Linked DNA regions of Homo sapiens: all the other regions are linked to region 3. Evidence: promoter capture Hi-C in 16 types of primary human blood cells and fetal thymus (Javierre and others, 2016). All regions are on one chromosome and are shown on one strand. Each heading gives the region's core, a stretch centred on a gene start or on the middle of the fragment in contact. The rest is flanking DNA. Distances are from core to core; before and after follow the strand shown. Region 1 overlaps HTT (huntingtin). Region 2 overlaps HTT (huntingtin). Region 3 holds the start of HGFAC (HGF activator).

Region 1 (2,700 bases), core at 27-2,526, 280 kb before region 3:
TCTTTTCACTCTTTTTTCTCTAATCTTGTCTTCTCGCTTTATTTCATTAATTTGATCTTCAATCACTGATATCCTTTCTTCTGCTTGATTGAATCGGCTGTCGAAGCTTGTGTATACTTCACAAAATTCTCGTTCTGTGGTTTTTAGCTCCATCAGGTCATTTAAGCTCTTCTCTACACTGGTTATTCTAGCCATTAGTCTAACATTTTTTTCAAGGTTTTTAGCTTCCTTGTGATGGGTTAGAACATGCTCCTTTAGCTCGGAGAAGTTTGTTATTACCGACCTTCTGAAGCCTACTTCTGTCAATTCATCAAACTCATTCTCCATCCAGTTTTGTTCCCTTGCTGGTGAGGAGTTGTGATCCTTTGGAGGAGAAGAGGTGTTCTGGTTTTTGGAATTTTCAGCCTTTCTGCTATGGTTTCTCCCCATCATTGTGGTTTTATCTACCTTTGGTCTTTGATGTTGGTGACCTACGGATGGGGTTTTGGTGTGGGTGTCCTTTTTGTTGATGTTGATGCTATTCCTTTCTGTTTGTTAGTTTTCCTTCTAACAGACAGGCCCCTCAGCTGCAGGTCTGTTGGAGTTTGCTGGAGGTCCACTCCAGGCCCTGTTTGCCTGGGCATCACCAGCAGAGGCTGCAGAACAGCAAATATTGCTGCCTGATCCTTCCTCTGGAAACATCGTCCCAGAGCACGAAGGTGTCTGCCTGTATGAGGTGTTTGTTGGCCCCTACTGGGAGGTGTCTCCCAGTCAGGCTACATGGGGGTCAGGGACCCACTTGAGGCAGTCTGTTCATTATCGGAGCTTGAATGCCGTACCGGGAGAACCACTGCTCTCTTCAGAGCTGTCAGGCACGTATGTTTAAATCTGGAGAAGCTGTCTGCTGCCTTTTGTTCAGATGTGCCCTTCCCCCAGAGGTGGAATCTAGAGAGGCAGTAGGCCTTGCTGAGCTGCAGTGGGCTCTGCCCAGTTCGAGCTTCCCTGCTGCTTTGTTTACACTGTGAGCATAGAACCACCTACTCTAGCCTCAGCAGTGGTGGACACCCCTCCCCCAGCCAAGCTCCTGCATCCCAGGTCGATTTCAGAGTGCTGCGCTAGCAGTGAGCAAGGCCCCATGGGCGTGGGACCCGCTGAGCCAGGCACAGGAGAGAATCTCCTGGTCTGCTGGTTGTGAAGACTGTGGGAAAAGTGCAGTATTTGGGCAGGAGTGTACTGCTCCTTCAGGTACAGTCACTCATGGCTTCCTTTGGCTTGGAAAGGGAAGTCCCCCGACCCCTTGTGCTTCCCAGGTGAGGCAACACCCCGCCCTGCTTCGGCTTGCCCTCCGTGGGCTGCACCCACTGTCCAGCAAGTCCCAGTGAGATGAACTAGGTACCTCAGTTGGAAATGCAGAAATCACCTGTCTTCTGTGTCGATCTCACTGGGAGCTGTAGACTGGAGCTGTTCCTATTCGGCCATTTTGGAAGCATCCCTTGTTTTTTGAGGTGGAGTCTTGCTCTGTCGCCCAGGCTGACGTGCATCGGCACAATCTCGGCCCACTGCAACCTTTGCCTCCTGGTTTCAAGCGATTCTCCTACCTCAGCCTCCGGAGTAGCTGGGATTACAGGCACCTGCCACCATGCCTGGCTAATTTTTTGTATTTTTAGTGGAGATGGGGTTTCACCACATTGGCCAGGCTAGTCTCGAACTCCTGACCTTGTGATCCACCCACCTCAGCCTCCTAGAGTGCTGGGATCACAGGTGTCAGCCACCACGCCCAGCCATATTTTCAGATCTCCCTCTCTTTGCCCTAAACCACTGTGCTTAATAAGTAGTTTTTAGTGGCCAGCAGTCTCCATGTATAACACATTTTAGCAAAATGGAAAATACTATATGTTTTAAATTTGAACGTGAGATTATACTGAAATAAAAATCATCTAACTGGGATTCTTTAAATAGTAAGATTTTCTTTTTTGTATGTGGGTTTTTTTTTAACCTTATTATTATGACTGTCATATATAGAAATGGCTGTTTTTCAGTTACAGTCAGTGAATGTATCAAATGCTGCCTTATCCAAATAATAAAAGTAAATTATTAATAAGTCACAATTTAATGAAGATTGATGTTAGTTGATCTTTATATTCTTGAAATCAGCCATATGGTTGTGTGTGTATGTATATATTTTTAAAGGTACATAAAGATAATAAGCTCATCTCTGAAAATTTTTACATTTGGCATAAGAATAACTGGATAATTAAGCATCTTATTCTCTGGCCTGTGTCTTTACAGTTAAAGGTAGATTTACTCACCTCTCCTTTTTTGTTTTTCTAAGTTCATCTTTTTTGCTGTTTCAAGACAGAGGCCCATTTTAGCTTTCTCGCATATCCTTTTGTTTGTACTTTGGAAGCCTCACCTGCTTAATTGTTGAGTTTTTATCCGTGGTCTTTTAGAGGGGGATATGTAGGGTAGAAGCTTTCACAGGTTCTTGTTTGCACTTGGCCCCTGACTGTTTTGAGGAATCTCCCTCACTGACTCACAGCATGGCAAGGTTTCAGATCTCTTTCTGCCACACAGCAGTTCTGAGGCAGCTGGAAAGATATCCAGATGCTTAGATTGTCAGGCCAGGCTTGAGATATACAAACTATTGAGCCTTATCTGTGACCTTGCTTAGGTGAAGGCATCAGAGCCCCTGCACCAACATGCATAGGCCTCTGCATGTGT
Region 2 (2,700 bases), core at 199-2,698, 320 kb before region 3:
GTTAATTTGCCAGAAATGGCATCTTCAAGTCGTCAGAGGGATCTGAGAGTTCCTTCCTGGCCTGACTTGAGAAAATCCGTCTGTCCCCAGCTCTGCGTCTGCCTCCACTGCCCAGTCACCTCCTCTCCATGCTCTTGGGGCTGGGCCCTACCCCACCATGCAGTGCTGCCCTGGAGCAGTGAGCTTGGTGGGTCCTGTCTGGCATGAGAGCTGCCTTTGGGAGCTGGATCCCAGCCTCTACCACTGGGTCTGGTGCCTAGCAGGCTATGGATAAACTTCTGCTGACTCCGGCCTCTCCTAAGCCACTGCAACGTGGTCGGTGTAGTGCACAGTGTGTGTGCAGCGTGGCCTTACTCACAGCCTCCACATTAGAGAGAATCTGACTGAAGTCTTACTGCTGCCTCGTGTGAACATAAATGTTTGCCAGAACCATGAGCAGGAAATGTTAATCTGCCTTGTTTCCTGTCCTTTACACGGAAGAATTTTTTTCTGTATGGAATGCGTGCCTTACAAATAATGAGTGGAAATACCCATCGCTAATGAAAAGTTATACTTGACTGTTAGTCAGCTAAATAATCTGAGATTTCTAATACTTTTAATTTGGCTTTTACAATGCAATTTATCTTAGCTTTTTTGATTTCTTAGGTCATATCTTTAGAACTATATATTTGAATGTTAATGTAATTTTCATATTGAAATTAAAATGTTGAACTGCGATGTTAAGTGTTTCCTGTGGAAAAACGTTCACATTTTCTCTAGTTTTAAAGTTGAATCAAGCTGTTTGAAGATTTTCACATTTCTTCTAGATTTTATCAGCTTGTTACTTTATCTGTCACTTTCTGTGATTTGCAGCTGGAGGGGGTTCCTCATGCAGCCCTGTCCTTTCAAGAAAACAAAAAGGTGATTATTTCAGAAATCAGAGTCTTGTGTTGAATCTTACTGATTTTCTTGTATTTCTGTAATGTAATGTATCTTGTATTTCTTGTAATACTGTATTGGACTCTGTGTATATCTCTTCTCAGATGAGTGATTATATGTGTGAATGTTGCTGGAATCTGATAACCAGGCCTGAATAGTTTTGTAGGGTGGCTTTTAAAAATTACTTTCATATCAGAATTGCTTTGTCATAAATTTTGAACGCATCATAAATTTCTAATGTTCGGGGTCAGCAGACTTTTTTTGTAAAGGGACAGAGTGTAAACATCTTAGCTTTATGGGCCATATGGTCTCTTTTGCAACATTCAGCTCTGCCCTGTGACAGGAATGCAGTTGTAAAGACATGAGCTACTGGCCAGCTATGTTCCAGTAGAACTTTACTTACAGAAACAGACAGGCTGTAGTTTGCCAATACCTGCCTTAGGGAATGTGTTGTTATATTTTGTGAGTTACCTTCTCAGTAAATTTTATTTAGTATTAGTCAGGAATATTATTAAGTAGCTTCTTTTCCAGCCTGGTCAACATAGTGAGACCCGGTCTCTACCAAAACAAAACAAAACAAAAAAACAGCCACGCATGTGGCATGTGCCTGTAGCCTCAGCTGCTGCTCAGGGGGCTGAGGCAAGAGGATTGTTTGAGCCCAGGAGTTTGAGGTCACAGTGAGCTGTAGTCATGCCACTGCACTCCAGCCTAGGCAACAGAATGAGACCTTGTGTCTTAAAAAAAAAAAGTTTCCTTTGTTGGGTTATTTTAATTTGGACCTGGTTATCATTTTTCAGCCATATTTAACTTTGTACATATCAGAATGTTCTGATAAAACTTAACTTTTATTAAAGTGTTTGTGATATAATCTGCTAGTTTTGGTACACATTATCTTTTGCAATGCCAGTTATTTTCTTTTCCAGTGTGGGTTTGCATAGGAAAAGAATTGCTGTCACTTTCTATTTTGAAATCTTAAAAGACTGATCCTTTTTTGTGTCATGATTTGAGTATTTAATTGAGAGCCTAATGCCTAATATTATTTGCAGTATTAAATGGGATCTTAACAGGAATAGCATTCTAGCCTTCATTGAATTAAGTAAACATTTCTTAAGAGAACTTGGAATCTATAATATTTGCGTCATCATAGTATGAGATACTTAATCAAGTTTGAGATTTTAGTGAAACATTGTTTAGAAGCCAAAAGGATTCTAGGAAAAATTAATGTCTATATTCTTGAATTAGGAGAGATTTTGGGACGTGTGACTAAGTTACGCTGACACTTGTTTGTTTCTTAGTCGCTTTTTCCAGTGGCGGTGAGAACGAAGATGACTGATTCACATTGCTCAGATGAGTTTATCCTCTTCTGGCTGGGACATGGGATATATCCTGTCTCTTTTAAGCCTTTTTGGTATTTTTCCCCCATTGAGAGCTGTGTCTTCAAACTCTTCTGTTATAGCTGGAAAATCCTTTTTAAGTGAAATCTGCCCAAATTATAAGACAGATGAAGGTAGAGTTGTGTTGGATATAGGATTAGGGTGAAAGTAGTGGGGGTGTCCTGGAGCCTCTCTTCTGGTGGCAGCCTAGCTCTTGTGCCTTTGAGGAAATTACCCTGGGGACGGCTCTGTGGAACATATTTGCAAACCACTGATTTGGAAGATAGAGATGGCTTTTGTTAAGATCTGAATTCACCTTTTTGGCATTTTATTTGATTTCTCAAGGTAAAGAACTTATTTTGTAATAAAGTTTCCTATTATTTAGTAGATAGGCCAAGTTGCTGTGTTA
Region 3 (2,700 bases), core at 53-2,552:
CCAACCCCCCATTCACCGTGCCCCCAGCACCCACCATGCCTCCACATTCACCGTGCCCCCAGGGCCCACCATGACCTCCCCCCCAACCCCCAACCCCCCATTCACCGTGCCCCAGGGCCCACCATGACCTCCCCCCCAACCCCCAACCCCCCATTCACCGTGCCCCCAGGGCCCACCACGCCTCCATGTGCACTGTGCCCCCTGGGGCCCACGGTGTCAAGCTGGGTGGTCAGTGGGTGTCCATTCTCTCTCCCTCTGCACAGACAGGCAAATGGGGGGCAGAGAGAGGGGTTTTAGGGGATACAGGGAGGCAGCTTCAGCCCTCGCTGGTCTCCAGGCCACAGTGGTTCACTCACCCCTCCTCCCACCTCGGCAGCCCTGGGATGTCGCTGCTGACTCAGGAGGAACCCGAGGTGCCGTAGCGGCTGCTCCAATATTGCAGAAGAGGTTCCTCAGGCAGCTCTGCCCACAGCCCCAAGTCACGAATTCCGTGACTCCAGCTCCATCCCAGGCCCCAGGGTACCTGGCCCAGGGTTGTGCTGCCGCAGACTTGGCCTGTACCATCCAGGCGGCGGTGGGGAGCTGGGGTTGGAAAGGCTTCTTGGAGTGGACTCCTGGGTCTGTCTGGGAGACGGGGAGGAAGGGACACTCTGAACATCACCAGGGGCTGCTGGGGGGCCCTGGCCACCCCCAGAGTCAGAACAGGCAGGTGGGGCAGGATCTCAGGTCATCCTATGCTACACTCAGCCATTGCGTGGCCCCTCTCCTCCCTGTGCCTGGCCTTTTGGCCAGCCCTGGGGCCACCGAGAGGATGCAGCACCGAACCCTCCAGGAGCCCCCAGTGCTGCCGTCTGTGGGACAGGGACAATCCCATCCCCACTGCTACTGTCTGTGCTGTGCTGGGCACAGAGCTGGACACCTCCAAGGCCCAGCGCCCGTAGTGGCTCTCATCATGGACAATTCACAGGCAGATGGTGGCCAGCTCTGTGGCCTGCAGGGACTGGGAGCGGCGCCAGACCATCTAGGCCCCAACCTATCTGCATTATCCTGGAAGACTTCCTGGAGGAGGCTTCTAAGCTGAGGCCCAAGGACCATGTCAGGTCTAGGACTAGGACCAGTGCAGGCCGAGGCCAGAGAGACAGCTGGGCTTCCAGGTAGGGTCAAAGTGAGGTGGGCAGCAGGTGTGGGGGCCAGGGGACTCGGGGACTTCCTCTCCGGCTGGGCCCGCCTGACGTGGGAGGCAGCCAGGGTTAATCATTTCCACGAAGCCTTGACCCCACCTGCCTTGGCCGCTCTGCTCCCGCCTCCCACTGCCCCTCAGGCCAGCTCAGGAGCCATGGGGCGCTGGGCCTGGGTCCCCAGCCCCTGGCCCCCACCGGGGCTGGGCCCCTTCCTCCTCCTCCTCCTGCTGCTGCTGCTGCTGCCACGGGGGTTCCAGCCCCAGCCTGGCGGGGTGAGCACTGACCTTGTCGCAGTGCGACCAGAGGTTCCCAGTGGCTACTTGGGGTCCTTGGGAGGAGGCCAGAGGGAGGGTCGCCACAGAGCGTGGGGATTTGAGGGGGCGGGGGTCCGAGCAGGGGGCTTACGTTGAAAGCTGGCCCTCACAGGGCAGGTGGGTGCTGGACTGGCCTTGGAGGCTGGGGCCTGGGCTCACGGAGCCCCACCTGGGGGCTGTCATCCCTGTGCGGCCTGGCCTGGGCCCCTATGGGTCTGGGGGCTGCCCCCTCTCTCTGGACCTCTGTTGGGTCTGGATGCGTGAGGTTGGGGGAACCTCCCAGGGCCTCCTAGCTGCTCCCATCACCAAAAACTGACGTCAGGGTTTAAGCTTGGTGGGTAGCAGTGCCTGGGCCTGGGCAGTGACCCTGAGCAGGTGTTAACTAGGGGCCGAGGGCGGGGAAGGTGTCAGGGCCTGGCTGAGGCCTCAGGAATGTCGTGTGTCCTCCTGGAACCTGCTCCGAGATCTGGGGGCCCCAGTATGGAAACAGGCTCAGGGCTGTGACCTCCTGCCCGGCAGGACCTGAGTGTGAGGGTCTGTCCCACACTGACACCCTTTCTGCTCCTCCTAGAACCGTACGGAGTCCCCAGAACCTAATGCCACAGCGACCCCTGCGATCCCCACTATCCTGGTGACCTCTGTGACCTCTGAGACCCCAGCAACAAGTGCTCCAGAGGCAGAGGGACCCCAAAGTGGGGGGCTCCCGCCCCCGCCCAGGGCAGTTCCCTCGAGCAGTAGCCCCCAGGCCCAAGGTGGGTCAGGTGGGCCTGGGAGGAGGTGTCGTGCTTCACCTTAGGGCTGGGTGGGAGGAGCATGGCTGCGGCTGGAGGTCCTGAGGGGCTCGGGTGCCCCTCGAGGGAGCCCTGACCCTGCCACCCCCTCCCCACAGCACTCACCGAGGACGGGAGGCCCTGCAGGTTCCCCTTCCGCTACGGGGGCCGCATGCTGCATGCCTGCACTTCGGAGGGCAGTGCACACAGGAAGTGGTGGGTCCGGGCAGCCGGGGCACCCGAGCTGGGGTCACCTGCCCCACGCTGCCTGCTTTTCTGGGAGCCGGGCACACAGTAGGCGCTCACCACGCAGCAGGCGGACCCAGTGAACCCAGAGACCCTCCAGGGTGGTGGGGTGGGGTGGGGGGCCTCTGCCTGGGACCCCCATGCACGCAGGTGTCGCCCCCCAGGTGTGCCACAACTCACAACTACGAC

The links. The method cuts DNA at HindIII sites, captures the fragments that hold promoters and counts their contacts. A CHiCAGO score of 5 or more calls a contact.
Region 1: a fragment that was not itself captured here is called in contact with the fragment with the promoter of HGFAC in region 3 in 1 of 17 cell types (naive CD4 T cells); the score reaches 6.1 in naive CD4 T cells.
Region 2: a contact is called between a fragment that was not itself captured here and the fragment with the promoter of HGFAC in region 3, in 3 of 17 cell types (total CD8 T cells, fetal thymus and naive CD4 T cells). The highest score is 6.6, in total CD8 T cells.

Annotation. Positions count from the first base shown.
Region 1 is chr4:3,165,609-3,168,308 of GRCh38, forward strand. All of the region lies in intron 29 of HTT (huntingtin), which reads left to right. Among named protein-coding and RNA genes, the nearest start is that of MSANTD1, 82 kb to the right of the region's middle. The HindIII fragment of the contact is 2,345 bases long and covers 105-2,449 here.
Region 2 is chr4:3,122,037-3,124,736 of GRCh38, forward strand. It overlaps HTT (huntingtin), which reads left to right. Exons shown (of 67, transcript NM_001388492.1): 10 at 853-900. Among named protein-coding and RNA genes, the nearest start is that of HTT, 49 kb to the left of the region's middle. The HindIII fragment of the contact is 4,628 bases long and covers 1-2,700 here.
Region 3 is chr4:3,440,666-3,443,365 of GRCh38, forward strand. HGFAC (HGF activator) reads left to right here and starts at 1,303. Exons shown (of 14, transcript NM_001528.4): 1 at 1,303-1,453; 2 at 2,067-2,247; 3 at 2,385-2,481; 4 at 2,676-2,700. The coding sequence starts at 1,337. The HindIII fragment of the contact is 2,021 bases long and covers 1-1,823 here.